3 separate regions of the Homo sapiens genome follow, and all the other regions are linked to region 2. Evidence: promoter capture Hi-C in human tissues and cell types (Jung and others, 2019). All regions are on one chromosome and are shown on one strand. Each heading gives the region's core, a stretch centred on a gene start or on the middle of the fragment in contact. The rest is flanking DNA. Distances are from core to core; before and after follow the strand shown. Region 1 overlaps DELEC1 (deleted in esophageal cancer 1). Region 2 holds the start of TNC (tenascin C). Region 3 overlaps DELEC1 (deleted in esophageal cancer 1).

Evidence for each region. The method cuts DNA at HindIII sites, captures the fragments that hold promoters and counts their contacts. A contact is called where the count stands out against the background at its distance.
Region 1: a contact is called between a fragment that was not itself captured here and the fragment with the promoter of TNC in region 2, in 2 of the 25 tissues and cell types used here (aorta and mesenchymal stem cells).
Region 3: a fragment that was not itself captured here is called in contact with the fragment with the promoter of TNC in region 2 in 1 of the 25 tissues and cell types used here (mesenchymal stem cells).

Annotation. Positions count from the first base shown.
Region 1 is chr9:115,339,521-115,342,575 of GRCh38, forward strand. All of the region lies in intron 4 of DELEC1 (deleted in esophageal cancer 1), which reads left to right. Among named protein-coding and RNA genes, the nearest start is that of DELEC1, 200 kb to the left of the region's middle. The HindIII fragment of the contact is 5,724 bases long and covers 1-3,055 here.
Region 2 is chr9:115,116,857-115,119,907 of GRCh38, forward strand. TNC (tenascin C) reads right to left here and starts at 1,301. Exons shown (of 28, transcript NM_002160.4): 1 at 1,126-1,301. The region is part of intron 2 of LOC124902255 (a long non-coding RNA gene); the gene reads left to right. It overlaps LOC101928748 (a long non-coding RNA gene), which reads right to left. Exons shown (of 6, transcript NR_110950.1): 6 at 2,683-2,852. RefSeq lists an enhancer at 1,580-2,399. The HindIII fragment of the contact is 7,931 bases long and covers 1-3,051 here.
Region 3 is chr9:115,300,660-115,303,744 of GRCh38, forward strand. The region is part of intron 3 of DELEC1 (deleted in esophageal cancer 1); the gene reads left to right. Among named protein-coding and RNA genes, the nearest start is that of DELEC1, 160 kb to the left of the region's middle. The HindIII fragment of the contact is 3,347 bases long and covers 1-3,085 here.

The DNA.
Region 1 (3,055 bases), core at 15-2,514, 220 kb after region 2:
AAATGCAGTGTACTATAATAATGATGTAAGGAACCACTTCTAAGCACACAGAAAGCATAAGACAAATGTTCAAGACACACATGCACCTGTAAAATGAGTCTCTGATCAGGATAGCTGCTCCAATCATGGGACATTAGACACTTGGTCTTCCTGAGAATTACTCATTGGTAAGCACTTTACAGTTTATGAGCTTCTCTCACTTGCATTATCTCACATGATCCACCCAGCAGTATTGAATTGGAAGAATTATCAGTTCCAATTGCAAATGAAAAAAAAAAGAAAAAGGCCCATGGAGACATTGTAATGACCCAAGGTGTCACAGAGACTGAGTGGGAGGGTTAGCATTTTTTTTTTTTCTTTTTGAGATGGAGTCTCGCTCTGTCACCCAGGCTGGAGTGCAGTGGCACGATCTCGGCTCACTGCAAGCTGCGCCTTCTGGGTTCACGCCATTCTCCTGCCTCAGCCTCCCGAGTAGTTGGGACTCCAGGCGCCCGCCACCACGCCTGGCTAATTTTTTTGTATTTTTAGTAGGGACAGAGTTTCACCATGTTAGCCAGGAGGGTCTCGATCTCCTGACCTCATGATCTGCCCACCTCAGCCTCCCAAAGTGCTGGGATTACAGGTGTGAGCCACCGCGCCTGGCCAGGGTTAGCATTTAAATCCATGTTTTTAATTCTGAAGACATTTTTCTCCATACCTTGATGTCCTTCAGACAGATAGGCATTTACTAAGCACCGACTCTGCTATGTGCCAGGGATATGCAGATAAAATTGATTCTCTGTATGGACGCAAATAGATAAATAGACAGAATGGGTCCATACCTAGTGTGGAAGGAGTTGCAAGGAGTGGGCAACTTAGTCGGTTCTAGGACTGGCTCGAAGTCTGGAACCAGAGGACACAGAGCCAGGCAGGGGCAGCACCTCCCTTACAGACAGGGCTAATCCCTGGCAAGTCAGGGCTGTGGAGTGCTTGGGGAATGACCTCAGAGACAGACAGGGAGGGCCCTGGTCTTGCCTGCTTAGCTGCCGACAGTCCCAGATCCTAAGGTGGCCCAGTAACAGCAGGGGGACAGGGGGACCTGCCCTCGGTCCTCAATTTTTTCATGGTCCTTGCCTCCCTTCCAAGCCCCTCTACTATCCTGGCACCATTTCTTCCTGGGCACCTAACGCAGACCTCATCCTCTGTCCTCTTTAGTTTTTATTAAAGAGACAGCTGATGAGGACTTAGAGTGCTACCCCTGCAGAGGAACAGAGAAGGGAGGTGTGTGGTGAGAAGAGGTTTGGTCAATGTGTGATTTTTCTTGCAATGCCCCTTTATCAACCTGAGGTAAGGGCACTTTGGGTACTTTGGTTTGGGTTGAGAAGATAATTTGGGATATGTTGGGTGAATGATTTGAAATGAAGCAGTCAGACCATTTAAGAACACGGGCTTTGGAATCAGAGATCTGAGTTCAAATATGAGTTTCACTGCTTCACTTCCTGATTATGCCACCTCAGGCAGGTTACTTGACATTGCTGTGTCTCACTTTTATCATTTGCATCTGCAAAATAATTGTCCTAAAAACCAATTCATAGAGTTGGCTCAAGGACACAGCTGGTACCAAGTGAATGATGGTCATACATGTATGTGTGTGTGCATGTGTGTGTGTGTGTGTGTGAGAGAGAGAGAGACAGAGAAAGGGAGGGAGGAAGAGAGTGTGTGTTTTTGCATATGACTTAGCATTTATTGAGTACTTCTTTGGTAGAAACTATGCTAATTGTCATGTGTATATGATTATCTGATACAGATTTTATTAAACCCATTTTACAGATGAGAAAAATGGAAGCTCAGACAACTTAAGTAATTTGACTCAGGTCAAATGGCTAGAAAGTGCAGACCCAGGATTTGAGATTTAAATCAGGTTTCTTGATGCCAAAGCACCTGCGTATGGGTAGTCTTTCTAATACACAGCAAAGTGGAAGCTGTCTCTCTTGACCTTGAGCCACTCCTTGCGGCAAAGTTTCCAGTTAACATGAAACCCAATCAGATTCCCCAAAATAGCAGCCTGTTCCTCTAGGGAGAAGAGGAGCCCCACCCAAAGCTTGCTCCAGAGTCTTGGAGGAAAGAAAAAGGAGGGAGCAGAGAGTCTTGCTTAAAAATGTGACACATATTTTCCAGGAGCTGCCTCCAGGCCTGGGATGGAGATTCTGAGCATCATGATTTTAAACTTTTTACTTAATTTTTCATTCTTGCTTCAGGCCTGGGCAAGCTGGACTCTCGAGTCTTGAACAAAAATGGAAAAATAAGGGCTGCAGTTGAAATCATTTCACTGTGCCTATTTCACATGATGCTGCCTGCAAAAAATATAGCAAACAAGATTCCTCTGTTCAGTTTATCTCCAGAAAGAGGGAACCTGCATGGAGAAACTGTAAGGAGTGAGAGAGAGGTTTCGGAGAAAGATGAGCTTTAGCTTTGCAAAGGTGGGATTTGTTTTGCACAGTAAATTTCTGGAATTATTTCATTTGATTTCCCATTGTTTGAGTGTACTGGGTGGTACACCTTGTGCTAGGCACTGGAGGAGCTCTTAGAGGATTTAAAGAGTCATAATCTCTAAGTGATATGAGTAGTGGGGTTTGTTCAAAGAAGAGAACTAGCAAAGAGCAGGGCATAATGAACTAACTATAGGTCAATTTTCTCCTCTTTCAAGTCCTAGTTTAAACACAGAATACAAAATATGTCTTTCAAAATGATCATCTTTCACTAAAGGAAGCTGATTAAATGTACAGGTGCAGCCTCTAGACCTTCCTCACATGCTTTTCTCTAGCTGGAAGCAGAGCAATGCAATTTACATGGGCACTGTGATCAATTCTTAACATGGGGATTGTGAAGCACTCAAAGAGACTTGATTGGATTAAAGACTGATAAATCTTTCCTTTAAGTTTTCTGAAAATGATAAAAAGAAAACAAACAAACAAAAAAAAGAAATAAAATCTACTCCATCTTCCGTGAACGTGGAAATAGCTATAACCCTGAACCACAGACTTTGATATATTCCTACTTAGCACCACGAAATCTT
Region 2 (3,051 bases), core at 51-2,550:
CAGATTGGGTGAGATAAAAAGCGGGGGCTGGGGGCGGGCTGAGGAACAACACACAAGAAACAATCCAAGACTGGCTCAATGCCTCTTTTAACTTCCAGAGTGATGGCAGTTTTTGGCAATGACAATGATTATCCAAACTTCCAGTTATTAAGCAGTCATTGCTGATCTTTCTATACCTCATTTTCTCCTCAAAACGACAGCAGACGCTATTGTCCCCATTTTAGAGATGTGAAAACTGAGGATTAAGGAAGTGATGTATCTTTCTCAGGGTCATATGTATGGTGGTGGGGAGAATACCAAACACCTCTGGCTTCAAACCTAAGCTCTTATTCCTCTTACAACACTGATGGGTGAGAAGAACCCCTGTGTTCTTTCCAAAGTACACCAGGGGCAGCAGGGTTCCCATACCTGGGGGATGTTGTTGCTCAGATCTTTCTGTGATGAGAGGTGAGGAGGAGGAGGTGATTCTAGAGACATGTGGGACGCTGCTGGCTCTAGGCACCCCAGTAAAGCTGTTCTCCACCACTCTCTAGCTGCCTGTCAGTTATTCATCTGGCCCAGGAGCCACCTCCTCTCTTCTGTCCCCCAGCTCTCATTTCCAGGGTGAATATTTTGAGGACCAAATGAGGGAATGGGTACAAAACTCTTTGTAAACTTTATGTAAGTGCTGTTTAGATATAAACTTTTATATTCTCCCTGCACTCCTCTATCAAACTCCCTCTAACCCATCCCAGGGGCAGGCTATGAGCAAAGTCTGCCTTAAAACTCTACTGCCCTAACCCTCAAAATAAAAGATATATACAGGTGAATCAGCCAGACTAGAAGTAGGAGAGCAGTTGAAGAGAAAATTTTTACTTTTCCTCTGCAGAACAGCAGAAGATAACAACTTTACGAAAAGTTCCTTCCAAGTCTGACTATTCATAAAGTTAAAACAAACAAAATTACAAGACCAGAAAAGTCAAGGTGCATCTGATATAACCAATACACACTCCTTTTTTTTCCAGCGGTGGAAAAAAAAACCCCATATGTTTTGTAATTATAATATAAAATCACAACTCATTTGGTACCAGGAATGCAATCCTTACATCATAAGGATCTCTAGTGATGAGGGCAAAACAGACTTACCTTTCCGATGGGCGAGAGACCTAGGTCCTTGGAAGAAGTACCTGGAGTGTGGAGCTGCGGCGGTTCCCACGTGCGCGTTCCCCCGAGTTCCCCAGCAGCGCTGCCTTTGTGCCCACGGAGGCGGGGGCGTGTATCTGCGCGCGGGAGAGGCGGGTGACAGTAGGCAGGCTGTGGCCGGTGCAGCCAACTTTGGCTGGCTTATATAGCGAGCTCCTTCCTCTGTAATGGGACGCCTCGCCTCCAGACATCCTTTCCCACTTTTTCAGTTGGCGAATTAAAGGAACAGCCCTCCCAGCGGAACAGGGTTAGCTCATGAAAGACGCACTCACTCCTGGCTCTCGGCCAGGGAAGGAACCCATTTGCATACAATTTATGGCGAAAGTAGGAATTCCCGCCTGCCCGCCCCCGACCCCGAGTAGCTGTTAGTGAAATGTGATTTTTGCTTTGCTCCCCACACGGGTTTTCTAATTGTGAGACGGATGCCTGGGGAGCAAGAGGGAGTAGGATCCGCAGCCCTGGCTCCCCTCTTGTACTTGGTCAAGCTGGAAATGGGACCAGGGCTCGCCTGGGCTCTGGGCAGCAGCTGCTCAGTGGCACCTCGGAGCGAGTACAGGGACTGAGCCCAGTTCCTGGAAAGAGGAGATAAAGCCCTTCAAAAGCCTGGGGGGTTTCAGGTTTCTCTGGGCCAGCGGAGAGATAACCCAGGATTAGGTCTCAGCAGGTGGGGATCGTGCGGGACGCTCACATCAGCCCTGCTTTTCTTGTGTGGGAGCCAGCCTTGCCCAGCTGCTGGGAGGCATCTTTGTTCCAGCCCCAGTGTCCTGCAGGGCAGTAGCTTTTTGACATTGTTCATGCCCTGTGCCTGGTGTGGTCTTCTCAGCTGGGTCTCCAGGGGGAAGGATTTCTGAGGTTTTCTCTTAGTGCTGAAAGGCGTCCCCCACAGCCCTTTCTTTAAAGAAAAGCAATAATTTAAAAAGGTAACAACCTAATCCTTGAGCCATAAGCTGCGCCTTTGCTTTCCAGCCTGCCGTGGATTTCCTCCAAGCTCTGAGTCATCCGTTCGTTTGGTGGTTAGCATGCATTGAGTATCCTCAGGGCATACAGGGGCATTTAAGGGAGTGGAGAAGTAGCACTTCACCCGTGCCTAGAGACTTCTGAGCCTGCCGCAGAGCATAGTAGTTTGTGACAGTGAAGTAAAATGAAGCATTAAATGTAATTCAAAACGCAACTACCATTGAGCCCTCCCTTATTAAGTCTATAATCAGGTGCTGTGCAGGGTACTTTATGAACACTATTTTTGTTCACTATTTTTATTATATCCTTGTAACCAGTAAGTAGGATAGACACAAGTGTCTCTTTTTTACACAAGAAAACTGACGTTTAGAGAAGTAATGAAACTTTACCAAGGGAATACACCTGGGAAGTGTTTATATTACAACACTGGGCTCCAGAGATCTATTACACGTTACTGTTTAGGAATAGGGTATGATGATATTTAAACAATGTTTTATGCTGTATTAGATTGTTAACACCATTTGTGTAGAAATCACAGCCATATTTGAATATGGAAAATATATTTATTTGCTCCATAAAGCTAATTAGGAGAGATCTTTGATTTTTAAAAATTAACTACTAATAATGGAGGTCTCAATTATCCACTTATTTTCAATATTAAATGATATCATCCCCACAGTTATTATTGTTGCTGTGGGCCTCAGTTTCCCCATCTGAAAAAAAAAGCAAGACACGATTAGGTCATCCTACGGTTGCTTTGGCTGTAGTATTTTAGGATTCTCTGCTAAAGTGACCCTCCCAGACAGCAAGAAAGCCCATAAATAGTCATGTCATAAAACCGCTCATTTGAACTTTTGATCCATTTTGGCTGATTCAAATGTTGGTTGTTTGGGAAGTTTTAAATTCTGTGCT
Region 3 (3,085 bases), core at 364-2,863, 180 kb after region 2:
TTTTAGTAGACAGAACACATCCAAGAATTGAGCATTTATCTTCCACATGTGCCGGGAGGACATGTTACTTATCTTCTCTCTTGGTACTTCCACTGATCCCACTTCCTGCTATGGATGAGCTCAGCAGACATGGCATGTAGACACATGGGGAAAAGTCATCAACACATCTGAAAAATTAGTAATGGCTTGGCCATCAACAGAGAGGCTTAGGTGTTACTTCTTACAACCTACAAACAGCATTAATTACACTGAAATCTCCAGGCTGGACCAAGAAGAGGATCCCCTTACACCACACATAAGTGCATTTGCCTGGAGTGAAACAGCACAGGTCTTCCTCTCACTGCAAGGCTGTGATCAATTCTTGGCTCCCAAACCCAAAAGGGATGTGGAAATCTGGTGGGAACTGTAAAGGCCTGGAATATAAGACTTATGTGCACAGATGAAAGGCAGCAGGCTTGTTCAGCTGGGAGGAACTGTAGGATGGCTTAATTATAACCTCCTGGTCTATAGCGAGTTCTTAGATCACTGATGAGGTAAACCCGCTGCTGGATCCCAAGCTGGGAGCTACAGCAAGGACTCAAACCTATTTATCTTTTATTTTTCTATGGTGTTTGGGATGCAGCTCTGAATAAAGTGGTGGCTGAGGAAACTGATTCAGCAACTGCATTTCCAGATCCTTTTACAGCAGAAAGAGCTTAACTTTGGGGTAATTCAAACCTGAGTTTGAATTCCAATTACACAAATTACAAACTGTAACTTTGGATATTTCAACTGCGTACATTGTAATTTTCTTAACTATAAAATAAGGTTAAAATATTGACCACATAGGGCTATTTTGGGGAATGAGAGAGAGAGAGAGAGTAGGAGTAGTCTCTTATCTAGTACAGAGCCTGGTAAGTTCTTTAAGTATTTTCAGAGTGAAGGATTAGATAAAGCTATGGAGAACGTTTAGACAGACTATGGTAGACAAGCTAGTAGGGTGATTTGACGTCTCAATTTGCCTTGGATGGTGCTAGCTTAAAAATTCAGCAGGCATGCAAAAGGGTCTCAGATTGAAGGGACAAAGTGATTTCCCTGTAGCCTCTGAATAACTTAAGCTCTGTGGTTTGCAGGAACTTAGTGATGTGGTCATGCATAGTGTGCGTGTGTGTGTGTGCGTGCGCATGTGTGCATGTATGTAATATCTTATGTCTACTACTCTGATGTCTTTTGAGCTTCTTGGAAACTTGGATAATATCTAATTTATCTCTTCATTTCTCTTTATCCCTAAATCAGCAAATGTGTGAGGAGAACCAATGGTAATTATATGCCTTGTATAATATGAGAACAGATGGAAAAATAAACAAACACCAAATCTCACTTCCTCCTGTTGCTTACCTTTTAGTGGCAGTGTCAGATTTTTCTCCTGGACTCCTTCTCCTAACTATAATTTAAAAAATGTATTTCATCATGCAACTTATTTATTTTAAAAATCTAAAGTATTACAGATAACATGGAAGCTCTTATCCCTAATATCATTCCCCCTTCTCTAAAGGCAATCACCAATATGAATTTTATTGTGTATCATTGCAGCCCCCATTTTCTATGTTTATTATGAGATATATCCACTAATAATACATATGGTTGCTATTTCTTACCTATTTACAGAACTATTTCATACTACAGTTTTTAACAACTTGTTTCCCCTTTGTTACTCAAGATTGCATTTTTGATATCCATTCATGTCTTTACACATAGATCTAATTAATTCATTTTGATTTTTGTTATTGTAAATTCCATGAATATATTACAATTTATTTACTCATTCTTTCTCCACTGAAGGACATAAAGATTGTTTCCAATTTTTCTTCATTGTAAACAGACACTGCTATAATGAACATTCTGGTTTATGTGCAGGCATTTCTCTGAAGTAGAATGAGAAGTCATTGGGCATGCACATTTTAACAATTTCACGATCTACAGTCAAATTGCTCTCCAAAGTGATTGTACTAATTTAGACTCCCACCAGCAGGGTAGGAAAGTTCAGTTTTCTCATGTCTTTACCAACAGTTGCTATTGACAGACTCTTTAATGCTTGTCAAACTATTTGGTGTAAAATGCTTCACTGTTGTTTTAATTTGCATTTCCTTTATTTCTAGTGAGGATAATAATCTATTCATATGTTCACTGGCTCTTCTGAATTGCCTGTTCCCATCAATTGCCAACTTCTGTGTTATATTGTTGGTTCGTTTAAACTGATACATAATTTCTCTACCTATTCAAGATAATCTGTGTTTGTTTTACACGTGTGTTTGTTTTACACGTTACAGACATATTTTCTAAGCCTGCCATTTTTTTAAGTATGTTTCATGGTGTGCTTCGTAATGGGGAAAATCTTAATTTTGATGCACTTGGTTTTATCAATGCTTTCCTATAAATTGCTAGTGTTTGAGAGTTTTCTAAGAAATTTGATTTTTATCTCTTAGTCAAAAATTGTTATCCTACATTCTCTTCTAATTAAAAAATCCCATTTGCAGTTTTATTTAGTTATTTTTGTCTATAAAGTGAGTTCCGAATGGGAAACCAGGTCATTTACTGCACTTTTTTCCTTCCCACTGATTTATAATGCCACCTCTGTCATACACCAGGCTCATATGTGTTTCAGCTTATTTAAGGGCTTCAAATTTTATTTCATTAACTTGACTTTTTCTCTGCTCCAATATCATTCTTTTAATTTTATGACTTTAAACTGTTTTCATGGATAGGTAGTCAAGTTCTAGCTCATTTTTTCCCCTCCCCTCAGAATTATCTTTGCTGATCTTTGTTGTTTGCATATTCAAATGGAGTTTAGAATAAGTGCGTAGAGTTCTGAGAGAGAAATCTTGTTGAGATTTTATCTGAAACCTCATTAATTAAATATATTGATGATTTGGATCAAGTTAATAGCTTTGTGATTTTAAATATCTCCACTCATGGAAATGGCACAACTCTCCATATATTTTGTTTCCCTTATGCTGCTTATTTCATAATTTTGTATACAAATTTTTGCATATATGTATTTTTAAATTTATTCATAAACACCTTTTTTTGCTTTTATGCCTGTACT